Linked DNA regions of Homo sapiens: regions 1, 3, 4, 5 and 6 are each linked to region 2. The links are contacts of gene promoters, found by promoter capture Hi-C in blood cells and fetal thymus (Javierre and others, 2016). All regions are on one chromosome and are shown on one strand. Each heading gives the region's core, a stretch centred on a gene start or on the middle of the fragment in contact. The rest is flanking DNA. Distances are from core to core; before and after follow the strand shown. Region 1 overlaps STAT4 (signal transducer and activator of transcription 4). Region 2 holds the start of NEMP2 (nuclear envelope integral membrane protein 2). Region 3 overlaps STAT1 (signal transducer and activator of transcription 1). Region 4 overlaps GLS (glutaminase). Region 5 overlaps GLS (glutaminase). Region 6 has its middle 42 kb from the start of GLS.

The links. The method cuts DNA at HindIII sites, captures the fragments that hold promoters and counts their contacts. A CHiCAGO score of 5 or more calls a contact.
Region 1: a contact is called between a fragment that was not itself captured here and the fragment with the promoter of NEMP2 in region 2, in 1 of 17 cell types (activated CD4 T cells). The highest score is 5.6, in activated CD4 T cells.
Region 3: a contact is called between a fragment that was not itself captured here and the fragment with the promoter of NEMP2 in region 2, in 1 of 17 cell types (fetal thymus). The highest score is 5.4, in fetal thymus.
Region 4: a fragment that was not itself captured here is called in contact with the fragment with the promoter of NEMP2 in region 2 in 1 of 17 cell types (activated CD4 T cells); the score reaches 5.4 in activated CD4 T cells.
Region 5: a fragment that was not itself captured here is called in contact with the fragment with the promoter of NEMP2 in region 2 in 1 of 17 cell types (activated CD4 T cells); the score reaches 5.4 in activated CD4 T cells.
Region 6: a contact is called between a fragment that was not itself captured here and the fragment with the promoter of NEMP2 in region 2, in 1 of 17 cell types (activated CD4 T cells). The highest score is 5.2, in activated CD4 T cells.

Annotation. Positions count from the first base shown.
Region 1 is chr2:191,027,695-191,030,394 of GRCh38, forward strand. It overlaps STAT4 (signal transducer and activator of transcription 4), which reads right to left. Exons shown (of 24, transcript NM_003151.4): 24 at 1,882-2,172. The coding sequence ends at 2,146. All of the region lies in intron 1 of STAT4-AS1 (STAT4 antisense RNA 1), which reads left to right. LOC124900514 (a long non-coding RNA gene) reads left to right here. Exons shown (of 2, transcript XR_007087796.1): 2 at 1-32. Among named protein-coding and RNA genes, the nearest start is that of STAT4-AS1, 7.5 kb to the left of the region's middle. The HindIII fragment of the contact is 1,141 bases long and covers 806-1,946 here.
Region 2 is chr2:190,533,197-190,535,992 of GRCh38, forward strand. NEMP2 (nuclear envelope integral membrane protein 2) reads right to left here and starts at 1,526. Exons shown (of 9, transcript NM_001142645.2): 1 at 1,363-1,526. The coding sequence starts at 1,459. It overlaps NEMP2-DT (NEMP2 divergent transcript), which reads left to right and starts at 1,642. Exons shown (of 5, transcript NR_183903.1): 1 at 1,642-1,925. RefSeq lists a silencer at 1,190-1,839. The HindIII fragment of the contact is 6,238 bases long and covers 1-2,796 here.
Region 3 is chr2:191,009,229-191,011,928 of GRCh38, forward strand. STAT1 (signal transducer and activator of transcription 1) reads right to left here. Exons shown (of 25, transcript NM_007315.4): 3 at 648-776. The coding sequence starts at 775. Among named protein-coding and RNA genes, the nearest start is that of STAT1, 3.6 kb to the right of the region's middle. RefSeq lists enhancers at 2,097-2,206, 2,507-2,596. The HindIII fragment of the contact is 4,868 bases long and covers 1-2,700 here.
Region 4 is chr2:190,895,437-190,898,188 of GRCh38, forward strand. It overlaps GLS (glutaminase), which reads left to right. Exons shown (of 18, transcript NM_014905.5): 3 at 168-289. Among named protein-coding and RNA genes, the nearest start is that of GLS, 16 kb to the left of the region's middle. The HindIII fragment of the contact is 6,937 bases long and covers 1-2,752 here.
Region 5 is chr2:190,912,363-190,915,062 of GRCh38, forward strand. All of the region lies in intron 7 of GLS (glutaminase), which reads left to right. Among named protein-coding and RNA genes, the nearest start is that of GLS, 33 kb to the left of the region's middle. The HindIII fragment of the contact is 925 bases long and covers 954-1,878 here.
Region 6 is chr2:190,837,764-190,840,463 of GRCh38, forward strand. No RefSeq gene overlaps it. Among named protein-coding and RNA genes, the nearest start is that of GLS, 42 kb to the right of the region's middle. The HindIII fragment of the contact is 3,899 bases long and covers 1-2,700 here.

The DNA of each region.
Region 1 (2,700 bases), core at 126-2,625, 490 kb after region 2:
CTGCAAAACCAAATAAATCTCTTTATGAATTACCCAGCCTCAGGTATTCCTTTATAGCAACACAAAATGAAATAAGACACCCCCACAAAAATGATTTTTGGAGTACAAGATTCACAATCTTGAGAAATAACTCTTAACTCTGGGGTCAATAATTTAGTTTTGATTTTCTGAATCTAAATAAAAATAGCCACTTATTGAACTTTTATAACGTGGCCATTGTCCATATTATGGAAAATGAACTACAGATGTCCTTCATTTTGTACCCCCAAATAACAATGATGACTGTGATCACATAGAAAACCTTGGCATTCTGCTACCAGGCTCTAAATTGACAAGTTTTTAAAACTTCTGTGAAATAGGTAGGAGTCCATTGTACTTTTGATAAATTCCAGGGAGCAAAGAGCTTCTGCAATCTATTTTGTCTAAATCCAATTGTTTAAGAGCACTTCCTGGTAGGAAATTACTTCTTTAAAGATAAAACTGTAATAGTCATGCTCCAGTTTAAATTATTTCATCCAATTCTGCTGCCAGTTGATACACGTGTCAGGCAAATTTTAGAAAACCGGGTTTTGTGGAGAGAAGTAGAGACTGGGAGGATGCACCTCCAGTTAGATGCACCCTTCCATCAAACAGATGCCTCCACCCTAAAAGCATTTAGGCGCTCACAAAGGAGTAAAGGAACTGGCCTTGGGGCAGGTGGAGAGTTTGTTCCATAGGAATAATCTAGGAGCCAGTTGGGCACATGTGGGTGGGATGAGATTGCTCAGATGGAATCTCTCTAAGGGAAAGGGCAGGTTATAGTAAAAGCTTTTATTCCTTTGAACTCTTTTCCATCAAACATTAGCCTCTGCCTATTTGGTTTGCCTGGAGGACAGGAGGTGGGCAGAAGGAATGAAATAAGAGCCCTTCAGAGGGGGCTGCCATCTCTGACTCTGCAGTCAGGGCTCATCTTGAAACCTGGTTCTGGATTTTTCTGCAGCTGGCATGGCAGATGCCTCAGTAGCATTACTTGCTCAACAGATTCAGCAGCATCCCCAGGGCTCAGCAGGCATAGAGAGCTCTCCAGGTCTTGAGCACTGGAGAGCTCCATGCTATTACTAAGGACAGCAGCTGGGCAATGGCACCACTAAACATCCAGTAGGGGTGAGGCAAGGACCAAAATAGACTTGCAATTCACATACATTACTATCCAGGAAACCAACTACCCTTCCTCTTTACTAGAGAAAATTGAAGGAATGGAACATCTCATCCTAAACCTCTTTCCCCAGTCTCAGGTTGGATTCTTAGGACCAGAGAGACTATTAGAGCTGGGAAAGATCATAGAACCCACATAGTCTTACCTCTTCTAGAGATGAAGAATGAGCAACCTATGAATAAAATCAGTTACCCAAGGCCAGAGTTGTTATTCTCCTAGTCCTCATTTCATCCTCCTAGTCCTCATGAGTTTTTTTAAATTATTATTTTTTTAACCCATGTGTCTGCTTACAATACCTGTAAAATCAGTGCAGTTTGCCCAAGATACCACCAGGAATGACTCTGGATCCCTCCTCCTTTGGAACCAGCAGCTGTTGAACCCCATAGTTGGAATAACGTTGACATGGCACTAAGGAGGCTTCATAATTCAACCCTGGATGCCCCGTGAATTTCTGCTAATGTCCCATCACGACTTTCCTCTTGGATCTACTGTGATCACCATGCCTGCTAGCGTTCATCATACTGATTGGCTTATTTGGCTTTTCCCTCACGCCTTCTTGCTGAGGTGTAGGTGTGACTTTATTATTCTTGACCTACCCTGAAACATTAACACTTACATCTTCTAGCTAAAATCGTAGTAACACCAGAGAGACAAAATGAGAAATAAACCAAACACAGGCAAGCGAGTCTTCTGTTAATATTGTTATTAACACTGGTTTCTTAAAGTTGTCTTATCTTGCAAGTTTATCTGAAGCTTTGGTTTCAAGCATTTCAGTCACAACACTCCCAATTGAGGAGTGCCACGGGAGTGTGAAGAGAGCTTCAGATGTCAAACATTTCCTAGAACCTGGTATTTACAAAGCTGAAGAAATAAAATGTGGTTATTGGGCAAAGAACAGTCTTTAAACTTTTTCATTTGCTTCCTTTCTTGGTGCGTCAGAGTTTATCCTGTCATTCAGCAGAATAAGGAGACTTCATCTAAAATTAAAAATGAAAATAATCTTTGAGGAAACTACTGGTTTTCAAATCAATCACTATTTCTTGGGCAAATAAACGTCCTCTTTTCTACGAATTACTCCATAATTTTTCTATTACCTAGTTAAAATACTTAAACTAAGTATTTGCAAAAGTAATTGGGGTTGATCAGTCTAAAATAAAAGGTACCTTTCAAGGAGACAGAAAAGTGTTTTAAGAAAAAGGCCTGTTTATCCACCAAAAACATAATGAGGAAATGGGTGCAAAATGTAGCAAATGTTCAGTTAGACATAAATAACTTGACGATTTAAGGGAACTAACATTAGAATAAGCTATCAAAGTAAAGTGAATTTTTCATCTATGGAAATCTTCAAGAGAAGGACTAAAAGCCAGCCAGATAAAAATTTTTTGAGGCTTAGGGTCTCTCCAAGTTTCTATTATATTATTCTGATGTATGTTCACTTTCATGTAAATTGGGGGTTTGAACCCATTGACAGTATTGGTGGATAAGAGCAAATAGCATGCATCCCA
Region 2 (2,796 bases), core at 276-2,775:
TGTGGCTGAAGGAATGAGTGGTCTAGAACCCAAGGTGCTGGGTGCTGGTCTAAGGCTACTTCTAATTTTCTCGCTGTTGCCATGCCCAGAAACCTTCCTGCTTAGACAGATTTGTGTTTTATTTTTTCACCAGCATAAAATTGTTGTATTTCTTACTACCAAACCTTCGTTTTCTCATCTGTAAAATGGGTATAAAATGGTGCTTTCCCGCATAGGGCTTCTATGGGTATTAAATATGATAGATACTGCAGTTAAAGCACTTATAACACTGCCTAGCACATACTGAACACTCAAAAAATTTCTCTTCAATGAAAACTGGAATCCAACACTTCCCCAACATATAACTCACTGCAAGATTCCCTCAGTTGGGAGCTGTGGCAGAATCTGATAATGACCTCATCAACATCCAGTCTCTCATTCATCCTTAGATAAAAAACCGCGGTATAACCGGAGGGAGGGCCATGCCCAGCTAAAAGAATACACTTGGCAGCCTCCCTTGAAACCAGGGTAGCCAAAGCAAGGAAGGGAAGTTGGTAGACAGTGCACCCAGGAAATCTTTTAAAAGATTTTATGAGGGGAAAAAAAAAAAGAAACAGAAATGTGAAGCTCATGGTAAGTTAGCGGCAGGTCTGGAGTTGGAACTCTAGGTTTCTGACTTCCCCAGGTGTCCTTCCCAGATCCTTCCCCAGTGTGCCAGCATCTTAAGCCCACTCCGTGGCGAGCCCCTACAGCTAGCAGCCGCTACCAGTTCTTGCTTCCTGTGTGCCAGGCATTGTGCACACGAACACCACAAGAACCTTGTGAGGCCTCATTACCTGCCGCTCACGTGGGACCGTTATGTTTACTCGCTCAAGGTCACAACAGTCAGGGGCAGAAGAATTTTCGCTCCGATTCTGAAGCTGAAGCTGTTACCTTCTCTAGTCTTGAGACCAAAGGAATGCGAGATAGTGAAATAACAAGGATTTCAACACGCATTGATGTACTGTACAAAAGGCCGTGTGCTGAAAGTCTGGAGACTAGGGTCAGCTGTGCCAGTGACAAGCTGTGTGACCCTGGGCAAATCAAAACCTCTCTGAGTTTCGGTTGCTTCTGTAAAACGAGGGAATTGGGCGACTGGATCGCGCGGTTGCTTCTAATTCTAAAATTACAAAATGTCCAACTGCCAGGCGAGAGACTACGGAAGCCCAGTAAGACAGGAAGGGCGGGCGGGGCCTGCCCGGGAGACCCCAAAGCGAGAAAAGGGAGCGCCCGCCCCAGTGGGCCTCGCGGTGCCGCCCGGGCCAAAGAGCGCGCCCTCAGGGCAGCCGCGAAGCCGGGGAGCGAGCACGCACGCGCGCGCCGCCGCCGCCGGTCCCGGGTTACCTGATAACGCTGCCGCCGCCGCCTCCCCGCGCACGGGCAGTGTGGCCAGGGGCGGCAGCCAGAGCAGCAGCCACCACCGCCCTTGGCGCGGCCCCATTTCGTTAGGGGTCAGCTCCGTGCGACCCGAGCCCTAGGGGACCGGCTCCGCTGCGAGGAGCGGAAGTGGCGCGGGGGCTCAGAGAAGGCGGAGGGGGCGGTGAGGCCCGAACGCGGGAAAGGCGGAGACCCCGCCTCCCCGGGGCGGAGGGAGAGTTGGGCTCGTTGCTCCAGCCTCCGCCCGCGGCCTCGGGGCACGGCGGGCCCAGGCCGGAGGAGCTTTCGGTGGCGCGACCCCGCTGGCATGCTCCCGGCCTCGGCCTCGGCCTCGGCCTTGGCCTCCGGGCCTCCAGCGCACGCGGGGCGTCCAGGGCCTCATCTTCCCCTGGGGACCGCCCGGCCGTGTCCCGCTGCCCTCGGCGCAGGGGTGGGAGTTGCAGAGAGGAAGAGTCGCTAACCCGGAGTGTTTCTTAAAACTTGGCTGACCTGTGACCTGCGGATTTGGAGGCTGAATTCTCCGAGCACCTGTGAGTGACAGCCCGTGAATGGGAAGGTCCTTCGGCAAACGCCCTTTTTGTGAATAAAATACATAAAAGCCAGTTTCTTTATTTTACCTTTCTGTTTATCTTTTTACTTTCATTTGGTAACAAGCAATAACAAATTGGAAATTTGGCCGCTTAAGTAACACTGACTTGTATGTCTAATCTCGGACACGGCATTTCAGAGTACAGAGGGGCTCGTAAAATGTTCCTTCACCAACATGACAAGGTTCTCTTAAAATTACCTTATGTTAAAAAAAAGTTTCTTAATGTAATAGATATATTTTTAAATTAACATATAACCTGAATGATCTTAATACTGATAATTAGGAGATATACATATATTTTAAAGAACATTCCCTCCACAGGACCTGGAACCCATTAATTTGACTCAATATTCCATACTTAACTAGGACAGTCTTCTCTAATTCTGGTCTTTTGGTGAGATATCTTAGAGAACCCAAAGTAACAGAAATTATCCTGTTAAAAATAGATAAGCCTCATTTTTCCTAAAAGTCTGAGTAGGATGGACTAGGCTTTCCTTGCCCTCAAAGAAAGGTTTAACCAACTGCCCTTAAGCACTTGGCACCATGTGTACACCATGTATGGCTTTTAAAAAGTTAAGAAATTTCCTTGTAAGGGACTCTTCAGAGGGATGGTTTTTAAAAATAAACCATCATTACTTGAGTGAAGCCTGTCTTCAGAGAAACAGCAGAGCCCTGATCCAATTCTTTCCTGTATTCCCAGGTGCGGTGTGCACTTGCTTCTTGCAAGACAGCTTTTGTACCTAACCACATTCATTTTGATTTGGTTTAATTTTGGATGGCACTATGGAAAGTAGCTAAAATAAACAGGTGGG
Region 3 (2,700 bases), core at 1-2,500, 480 kb after region 2:
ATTTTCTTCTTTTGAAACTGACATTGCTTTTAGCAGCAGTTTATGTGGTATTTCTCTTATGTGCAATTAGCACAAAAAATTCTAAACTCTAAGAGATTGTGCATGACAGTGTTCATGGTGACTATCTCTGAAGGGGGAAAAGTCAACAGGGGACCCTTCACTTTCTATGTCAAATACTTTCAGGACGTTTTTAAATTAGCAAATAATAAATTTTAAAGTAGAACACCTATCAGTTAAAAAAAATCCCCTTAATTTTACTACCTTCTTCATATTTCTAATCAATGTTTAACCATTAATTTGGCTTTATTTCTTTTAAATTACTTCTTTCTATAGTCTGGATCCTAAGTTGGAAAATAATCGGTGTCAGTATTCCGTAACTTGTCCAAAGCATTTAGGAATATCTATCATAAATTAAATTTGGCAAAACTGTATAAAAGTGCTTAATGACTAATATACTTAACTTTGTTGAGACACTTTTTGGCTCAACTTTGTTGAGTCATTTTTTAAATCAACAAACTTTTCTACAACAAATAATTCCAGTGGCCATTGATGGAATTCATCTTCCAGTAAACATGGCCCCAAGTCACTTAATCAACCAGTACTTTTAAGGTGTAAACTTCTTCTTCTGTCTAGTGAATTTTCCTTACCAGTCTTGCTTTTCTAACCACTGTGCCAGGTACTGTCTGATTTCCATGGGAAAACTGTCATCATAAAGCTGGTGAACCTGCTCCAGGAATTTTGAGTCAAGCTGCTGAAGTTCGTACCACTGAGACATCCTATAGGGAAAAAGAATATACATTCTTTCTATGTATATGGAAACCATAGCTCCAAAGAAAGCCTTCCTAGCATCAGGTTGTACTCTTAAATATCTTGCTTAATCCAAAACATAGTTTGTCCCAGGAATATTTTATTTAAATGGCATTTATAGTCTAAAGCCTGTTTTTAATTGAGTTTGGGGATGAACTTTTTTTCTCCTCCACGAAACACATCTTCATGTCTTTGCTTATTGTCAACATATCAGGGCAGCCTTCTCTGGCCTCTTTTATTTAAACTGCAACCACCTCCCACCCTGGAAACATGCTCTCTCTTTTCCCTGGTTTATTTTTCTTCATAGTACTTACACCACCATCTGACCTACCACATATTTTATTTTCATTATTGTCTGTTTTCACCACTTGAAGGGATGGATGTTGGTGGAGGATTCTGTGCACTGGTGTATCCCTAGAACAATGTCAACCACATAGTAGGTATCCAATAAATATGCCTTTAAAATGAGTTTGTGATTTTATCAAATAAATACATGAAAAACATTATTTTAATTAGACTTGCTTTAAGACAAATCACAAGACTCTCCCAAAATTGCTCTCCTACAAATCACAGTACATTTGTAATTTAACTCAAATATTTTCAAACTTCTGTTTTATATTTATGATTCATATGGTAAAATTCATTATTTTTCTTATACACATTTAAAAAGATATATTTTCTTCTTTGCCTACTACAAACAATAAATCTGGCATAAAGAAGTAATGATTTTTAAAGATTAAAACATCATTAAATGTAATTTAAAAGGATAAAGTAACACTTAGCTTTTTGGATAACTGTTAAGTCCATTTTTACATAGTGATCCTAAAGATTCAAAATCACAACAAAAACTTGATATAAGCAAGTCCTAAAATTCATTAGGAAAACGGAGAGTCTCCCATGACCATCATGTAACTTAGGATTTATATCAGCACACAGGTGGCAATATGCAGAGCAGACACAAGTGAATCTTGTCCTGCCAGACCTCTGGGGAAGGAGTCTGGATTTTCAAGTAGGGCATGGAAGAGTGTGTATGCATACTTGTAGCCGAGCACATGTATGCAGGCATGAGGTCACGCCTACTCCACAAATGTCCTTCCAAAGGAGTGTGAGGAAATGTCTGGCCTATAAAGCTAGTTATCCTCATATATACCAGTAGAAACGGACCCAAGCCCAGCCCCTTGGCACTCCTGCTGAAGCAATTTGATTTTTCAGTTCAGTTTTATTTTACCTGAGTGGAAAAATCTGTGGCTGTCTCCCTCCCTGCTTGGTAACTAATAAGGATCTACCTAAAGCAGATATGCTGGACCGTCAGGCAATGGGAGCTGCAACGCCTCTTATTAGCCAAGCGAACCCAGGTAACTTACTCCCCTATCAACAAGGTGTGTGTGTGTGTGTTTAGTAGACAGGAACTTGCTCTGTCATCCAGGTTGGAGCGCAGTGGCAGTGGAGCGCAGTTCACTGCAGCCTCCAACCCCTGGACTAGAGCAATCCTCCCACCTCAGCCTCCCAAGGAGCTCAGACTGCAAGTGATATGGTTTGGCTCTATGCCCCCACCCAAATCTTACCTCGAATTGTAATATAATTCCCATGTGTTAAGGGCGGGACCAGTGGAGGTAACTGAATCATGGGGGCAGTCTCCCCCATGCTGTTCTCGTGATAATGAGTGAGCCTCATGACATCTGATGGTTTTATAAGCCACTGGCATTTCCCCTGCTTGCATCTATTCTCTCTCCTGCTGCCCCGTGAAGAGATGCCTTCTGCCATGCAGAACTGTGAGTCAATTAAACCTCTTCACTTTATAAATTACCTAGTCTCGGGCAGTTCTTTATAGCAGCATGAGAACAGACTAATACAATAAACACGAGCCAAGAAGCCTGGCTAATTTTTAAATTT
Region 4 (2,752 bases), core at 116-2,615, 360 kb after region 2:
AATGAGAAACTTGTCCAGAAAGTGGGTAATAGTGACACTAAGATGCCATATTCATGTTCAAGTGTTGGGTAGAAGTTTTTATATACAGGAATAAAATCTTATAGTTGGTATAAGCATATACATTATTTGCACTATATATTTACAAACTCTTATTTTTTTAAAAACAGGCACTCAAATCTACAGGATTGCGAACGTCTGATCCCAGGTTGAAAGAGTGTATGGATATGTTAAGATTAACTCTTCAAACAACATCAGATGGTGTCATGCTAGACAAAGATCTTTTTAAAAAGTAAAAGTTTCTGCCAAACCTTTAATGGTGATTTGCTATGCTATACGGTGATTCTGCTTTTAAAACAAAATTGCATCTTTGAAGGCCACTGCTTCCTGTGTAATGGAAAAAGGGGATTTATAAACATCATTTGTTTGAAGAACTTGGTACATATTAGGTTCTATAATACACCGGGCTAAGAGTATTCTTTCTTTAAATCTGTTCTAAGCAAATTTAGCCACCGATGTTTCCAGTTTACAGTACTTGGAGATTGCATTCAGTTTGAGTAGAGCACATCCTTTGTCCTGTCATTGCTTATATTGATCCCCAATTCATCTGCATGACTTGCACGCTTTCTCAGCATGGTCTCTAGTTCTTTTCCACAAGGTGATTTAGGTGACATCATAAAATGAGAGGGCTTCAGACAGACCTGTGTTCCTCACATTTACATACCTGCATTGTCTGCTCCTCTCCTCTCTTCAGACATATTGATACATAGGCTTTTGGCTATTTTCATTTTCTTCAAAACAGTAAAGAACTAAAGGCAACTTTGGCGATTAAAGCCTTGATTTGGTTGAATGAGAATTTTTACTTTGATGTTCCTGTATTTGCATATATTTATTATTTATCTTCATTAATGTGTTTCTATTAGTTTGATTACTTAAAGATTTAATGGACATGTGTGTAATGGATCCCAAAGAATCAAATAGTATTTTAAACTACTACTATTTAAGTAGAAACTAGTATAAAACTGTAAATACTACTATAAGACATTGGCTTTTTCCAGACATGGATCCAAAAAATTTCTGCATCTACTTTGAAAGTTTGTTATGTATGGTTGTATTTACTTTTGTTTTATCTTCTTTTGGGGGTTGGGTGATTTGTTCTAGATGTCTCCTGGAGTATGAAGTCATCTGAAGGTATAAGTATTTAACTGTGGTTCTCTGAAGTTTCCTGGCATGCTGTGAAGCACTGCTGACAGCTTGGGTTTCTTATCTTTTCACGAGGAGGTTCTTGTTTCTGTTAACTTAGCTGACCTTAAAGTGTAGACTTTAGGTCCGTGTTGCAGTTGGTATTAGGAATTTTGACTTCCAGAACCTGCTTTTTAAGAGACAGAAAAACATCATTTCTAAATTTATTTGTGTCTTTGCGGTAAGGATTATTTTTCGTGTTCATGAACTGTCTGCACAATATTCTGATTAAAGTGCTTTCTGTGGGCATTATTTTGTTGTATCTGTGAATGAAGTTGTTAGAGTAATGGTTGGTAGATCTGTTGATAATCAGTAGGGGAACTGCTTTGGAATTTTAAGTGGAAGCAGTATTTTACACTTTTTTTTTTTAAGAGACAGAGTCTCATTCTGTCGCCCAGGCTGGAGTGTAGTGACATGATCTTGGCTCACTACAACCTCTGCCTCCCGGGTTCAAGTGATTCTCCCACCTAAATTCCCAAGTATCTGGGATTAAGGGCGCCTGCCACCATGCCTGGCTTTTTTGTATTTTTAGTGAGACGGGGTTTCACCACGTTGTCCAGGCTGGTCTCGAACTCCTGACCTCAGGTAATCCATCCGCCTCGGCCTCCTAAAGTTACACGGTTTTAATACTTGAAAAAATATTTATGTTTTGTAAACATGTTGTTATGTTTAAATATGAAATTAAAAACAATTTAAATCCTCTGATTATTAAGCCAGGGAACTGCAAACATTAAATTTTCTGCCTGCAATTAAGAGATAGTAATTATTGTTTTAAACACTAATCCAATTTTTAAAAATCTATGCTTGTAATACAGGCAGTTTCCAACTTGACAAATGTTTTATGGTCTATATGAGCAACCAGTAGAAAAGTACAAGTCTCTAGGGCATAATTATTTCTCTTTATTCTTAGAATGAGGTGGTTCAAAACCTCCAACTGTTAACCTTTTAATAGCTTTCAGTCACCTGGAAAGGTGATTGCTTCAGAGATGTTCTTTTCTCTGTTTTCAAATATAAGAAGTTACCTAGTTAGTGTTGCCAGAAATAAACTTCTCCCTTTCATGCAGCTAGGGAGGAGATGTTAAAACATGGGATTCATTTTTCCCCAGAGAAATAATTTATAAAGGTGGGTAGGTTTGGTTGAAGCAGTGTGTTAATATTTTACCTAAAATACATTGTAGATTAATATTTTTAGACTTTTTCGGTAATCTGAGAAAACTATTATGTGTGACTTTTTTTAACTTGGGAAAATACGTTCTAAGCATACTTTTTGGAGTAAAACCTGTTCGAAAGTTGGAGACTGCCTGTACCCAGGTTGATAGTCAATTGTTTTTAATGCTAGTAAATCTTAACACTAATACAAGTAAAAATATTTGTGTGGAAAACTAATCCTTTCTTTATTCGTGCATTTTTAACTTTATAGGTATTAAAACTTTCTTTGTATGATCATAATTTTTTGATCTTTTTGTTTTGCAAGAAAGTGAATGGTAGCCTTTCATTTGTATGTTTGATTTTC
Region 5 (2,700 bases), core at 166-2,665, 380 kb after region 2:
TTTATGAAGTTCATACAAATCTTGGAGAGCAAAGCCTGATATAACCCTATGTAAAATTGAATGCCCCAGAATATGTAATATTTTTCTTAGGATCTTTTAGGGAAAGGATTAAATTCATATAAATATCTATAATGTGATCTCTGCAAATTGTATGATCACATAATATTTATAAATTGGTATTGGTTTGAAATTTAGGTAATAAAACCATAGCCAAAAGGCCTTAAAAATTGTCAAACCCAGTTCTCTTACTTTATATAACGGAGGAAACTGAGAACCTGGCAAGGTTGTAACAGCAGTAGAATTGGACTTGAACTAAATCTCCTGATACTCAATGTGCTGTTCATTACAATTCACTCTGCCATATTTAACGTAGGTGTTTGCCATTTCTCTTGATGACATCTTTAATTTTAGTTAGCATAGTTATATTGCCCCAAATGCAGAAGTACTATTTCCTTAATTTGAACTGGTTCAAACGATAACAATTTATTGGTTTAAAAGTTGTATCTCATTTGATAGCAAGTGTTACGTAGTCATTCTTCGGACATTAGTCAGTAAAGAAACAGGCCCTTTTCCAAGATGCTTGCATCTGAGTACCCAAAGCCACGGATATTTCACCATGGCTACTAGAGGTGAATTCTGTTTTTAGCTCTTTTAATTGATGACCTTAAGGCTATTTGTGATTTTTTTTTTTCTTTCAAAATTCAGGAATTTATCATGGTGCCATTAAAATCATTTTCTTCATGTTAATCCCCCCACCCCAAAATTAAGTAGAGTCTTTAGTAAGACTCTTGATTTCATAATTTTGTAGTATTGATATTTTTTCCTTGTAGGATTGGTGGTGATCCTCAGGAAATGGGGGAAGAGGCAGAGCAAATGTTCAAAAGGATTAGCAGATTGTGGAAAAAAGGAGAATTTGGACAGAAGGAGCCTGTTGCATAAATTCTTAACTACTAAGCTTATAGGAAAACTCCAATATTTAAAATTTTAAACAAAGCTATATAGGTAAATACCTTTTTAAAAACAAATGTAATTTTATACTTAAAATGCACATAATTTTTAAAAATCATAAGGGTATTATACTTCCTCTCTTTTTCTCTGTGGTAGCTACTAACTTTAAAGGAATACTTTTTGTTGTAATCTGTTTTATTTGGGATTGTGATAATGTGTGATTGCTTGATTAAAAGGAAAGAACAAAAATAAATTTGAAAGGAACAGTTATTTTTATATGATGTAGCAGTATCCTTACGTATTTGTTTTCTTTTCACTGGTAAAAATTTCACGTAGTTTTAGTTTAAAAGTTAAGATCTGGTGATAACTTAAGGGTTAGGATAGGAAAATGAGGACAACATACTGCAAAATAATTGCCACACTTAATGCTTTTTCATGTTAGAAATAGTAAAAGTTACACTGTCTTCTATGTTTTTACCTCTCAGAGTTTTTTGTTTTTTGTTTTTTAGAGACAAGGTCTCTCTCTGTTGCCCAGTCTAAGTGCAGTGGTACAGTCATAACCCACTGCAGCCTCAAACTCCTGTGCTCAAGTGATCCTGCCACCTCAGACTCCAGAGTAGCTGAGACCACAGGCACAGGCTACCATGCAGGGCTAATTCTTTATAAAGCTAGGGTCTTGCCATATTGCCCAGGCTGGTCCCAAACTCCTGGCCTAAAGTGATCCTCCAAGTTTGGCCTCCCAAAATGCTGGGATGACAGGCATTAGCCACTCTACTTGGCATGCCTCATTCTAGTGGTAGTTTCCAGTTTTTGTCATTTAAAGAAGTTCAATTTTCTTTTTAATCAAAAGTATTTTTGAATTTTAAAAATTAGGGTTTTTTTTCTTTCTCTTTAAACAATTTGTAATCATACTCATTGAAAATCAAGACAAGCTTAGTTAATGTATATGTGATGTTCAGTTTGGTTATGTTAGCAATAACCTGTTAGGCATGCTTATAAGACAGGTTTTTAAAGTAGTTTGTGACTCTCAGAGTAATGCATGATGCCTTGGACTTGCAACATTCAGAAGACAGGATTATATTGGTTTATTTACTTCTTGTTTATATCAGTTTATGCTTTAGTTTTTTTTTTTTAATGAAAGGTAGAGCATTTATTGTCAACTGAAAATTGTTCTGTTACTTTATTTTTAGGGTTGATCTATGAAAATACTAGATCTAGAAAAACATTCTTTTTTACCTGGAGTGTCTTATTTTTTATTTTCCTAATACTCTTTAGCTTTAAACCATTTTCTATCATAAGACTAAATTAAGAGTATTTCACAAAATCGTTTTTAGTTACCTCTTTTTGCCTTTTTCCTCTATGATCTCTAATTTTTAATTGGCTTGCACCTCCATACTTTATGAATGGAATCAAGTGCGATACTTACAAAATAACTCTGATGCATTGATTTTAAATGAGCCATTTTATTATTAAATTTATTGGCAGATGTCCTTGTTAACAGTGTTTTTCACCTGTTATAAAGTATAATACATGAATCAATTCATAAATATGTTGTAAAAACTATAAAACATTGCAATATAGTTACATTAATTTTTTAATAGATAATGTTAAAACTCAGTGCCTCTATCAAATTTTCATTCATACAGTATTCTTCAAAGGAATGTAAATTCTGTAACTTGACAGGCATATTTACAGAAAAATTTTATAATTTACTTTTTTTTTTTGAGACGAAGTCTTGCTTGTCGCCCAGGC
Region 6 (2,700 bases), core at 199-2,698, 300 kb after region 2:
GTTGAGAAAGGAAAAAAAGGAAAGGATGAGGAAGACAGAAAAGGAGGAAGAAAAAAAATGAGGGAAGGAATATTCCAACTCCTTACTGCTAAGCAGTAATGTTGAGATATCAACATTTTGAAATGAAACCTTCTTAGAATATTTATTTTTTCCAAATTTGGCCCAGGGCCTTGACTGGCAGTACTTGTGCACTTTATTACTCATATACATTTTAAATAATTATGTACAATTTTCCATATTTCATTCTATCCCTCTATCTCCATGTTGGGGCATCTGAAACAACTATTTCAGGCATTTGGTTTTCTGGTCTCTAAGGAAAGATATCTCCAATTCTGTTTTTGCTCTTGCCTACATTCTTTTGACATTATTATAAAAGCAGACACGATAATGAGCTTTGACGGGATGAGCTGCTGAAATGGCTTAGGATTCAGGATTCAGCATGCTATGGCCCACAAACCAAAACCAGACTGCTGTCTGCTTCTTAGTTTCATTGAAGCATAGCCATGCCCATTCATTTATTTGTTGCCTATGGCTGCTTCTGTGCTATACTGACAAAGTTGACAGGGACTGTACGGTATACAAAGCCTAAAATTGTGACAACTACTGTATGGCCTGAAAAGCCTAAATTCTTACTATCTGAGTATTTTCAGTTTGCACAAGAATATAAACCAAATATGTCAACTATGCACACCATTTAATTCAGCTGACACGATTTTTGCAGCAAGACTTTGTTGATGAGGGAAGAAGTGTACAGATTGACATTCTGGTGCAAGCTCTTTGTCTCTCTGGATCAGCACTTTTAGTAGCACTGATTTAAGTGACTCTATAAAACTTTTACTTTGAGGAAAATACTTACTTGATAACATTTCTAGGCTGTGTGACTCATAGATGTGGTTAGAGCTATCAGACTTTGCTATTTCATAAAGTTGCCCCCAAACTTTGTGACTCAAAACAAATTGCAGTTTGGCATTTTGGACTGGGCTCAGCTTGGTGGTTTGGCTTTGTACAGGCTAAGATGATCTTACAGCTGGACTTGTTCATGTATCCGTGGGCAGCTGGTGGGTTAGCTAGGGCTGGTTAGTCTAGGACTGTTCAACTATTGCAGCTTTCTGCCCCTCTCGGTCTCCCTTGATGCCCAAGATATGTTGGGCAGGAGTCTGAGATCAGAAGGAATGAAAGCTCTGAGGTCTCTTGACACCTGGATTCAAAACACACGCAACCATAAAAAATGACGAGTTCATGTCTTTTGTAGGGACATGGATGAAGCTGGAAACCATCATTCTCAGCAAACTATCACAAGGACAAAAAACCAAACACCGCATGTTCCCACTCATAGGTGGGAATTGAACAATGAGAACACATGGACACAGGAAGGGGAACATCACACACCGGGCCTGTTGTGGGGTGGGGGGAGGGGGAGGGATAGCATTAGGAGATATACCTAATGTTAAATGACGAGTTAATGGGTGCAGCACACTGACATGGCACATGTATACATATGTAACAAACCTGCATGTTGTGCACATGTACCGTAAAACTTAAAGTATAATAAAAAAATAAAATAAAAAACACACAAACTATCACTTCCATCACATTCTTGGCCCAAGCAAGTTTCAAGAGCAGCCCACCTGATCTTGGGGGTGGGGAAATAGACTCCACTTCTTGCTGGAAGGAGCTGCAAAGTATTGCAGCCATTTTTGCAATCAACCACAGGAAGGGAGAAGGGAGAAAGAAGATGACCGCTTCTCTTCAGTCCTTTCTTTTCCAAACTTTGGTCGAATTTCACTATTCTAGCGCCTATCATAATACTCCCCAACTGGCCTGATCCAATTTCAGAGTTTTATGTAACTTCTAGGAAAGACTCTGACATCAAAAACAATAAATTTGAATTATAGTAAAAGCAACAGAAATTATAGTAATTATAGTAAGAATTATAGAAAGAGCAATAGAAACAGAGCTGAAGTCTAGGAGTCCAGGTCCCTCTGCTGCAGAATTTAGGTTTTATAATATGTGAGATTATAGCATTGTAAATTTTGTGCTAAACATTTCAATAGTTGTATCGCCTTCAGCAGTTTGGCAGTGCTTATTGATCCATATAGGCTCTAATATAGCACAAAACTTTAATGAGATAAATGTAAAATGCTAAATACTAAATAACACACCTTAGGAGATTCTGAGCATTTCCTACTCCTATCACCTGGGTGACACAGTTTGTTTAATGTATATGACTACATGTTTGGTATATTTGTTTCTGTGGCAATACATATGTGGATATGTTATTATTCTCACAAACCTCTATTTGGGAGGTAAGAAAGAATGGATGAAGGTCAGAGACTGCATAACTTACCAATGATCACTTTTCATACCTGCAAATTTCTCTTAAGGTCTGTGCATTTTTTCAGAGAAATTAGCTTTCCAGAGGGTGTATTATTTCACCCCATCTTATCCTTAAAGTGATCTGAAATGTTAGATGTGCTTTTGCTATGAAGTTTCAGAAAAAAAGACAATAGAAATAATGACTAACACAGAGATCAATTATTGACAAGAATATGTATAGATGAATTTAGACACAGAATTATTCTTGAGTGGCCTTAATGTAAAACCCTACTTAACATATCCTTGTTGAAAACTTTGATTCACATTTTACTCCATGATTCAGGCTCTGACCTTAGAACTTAGAACCTGCACACAAATCCTATC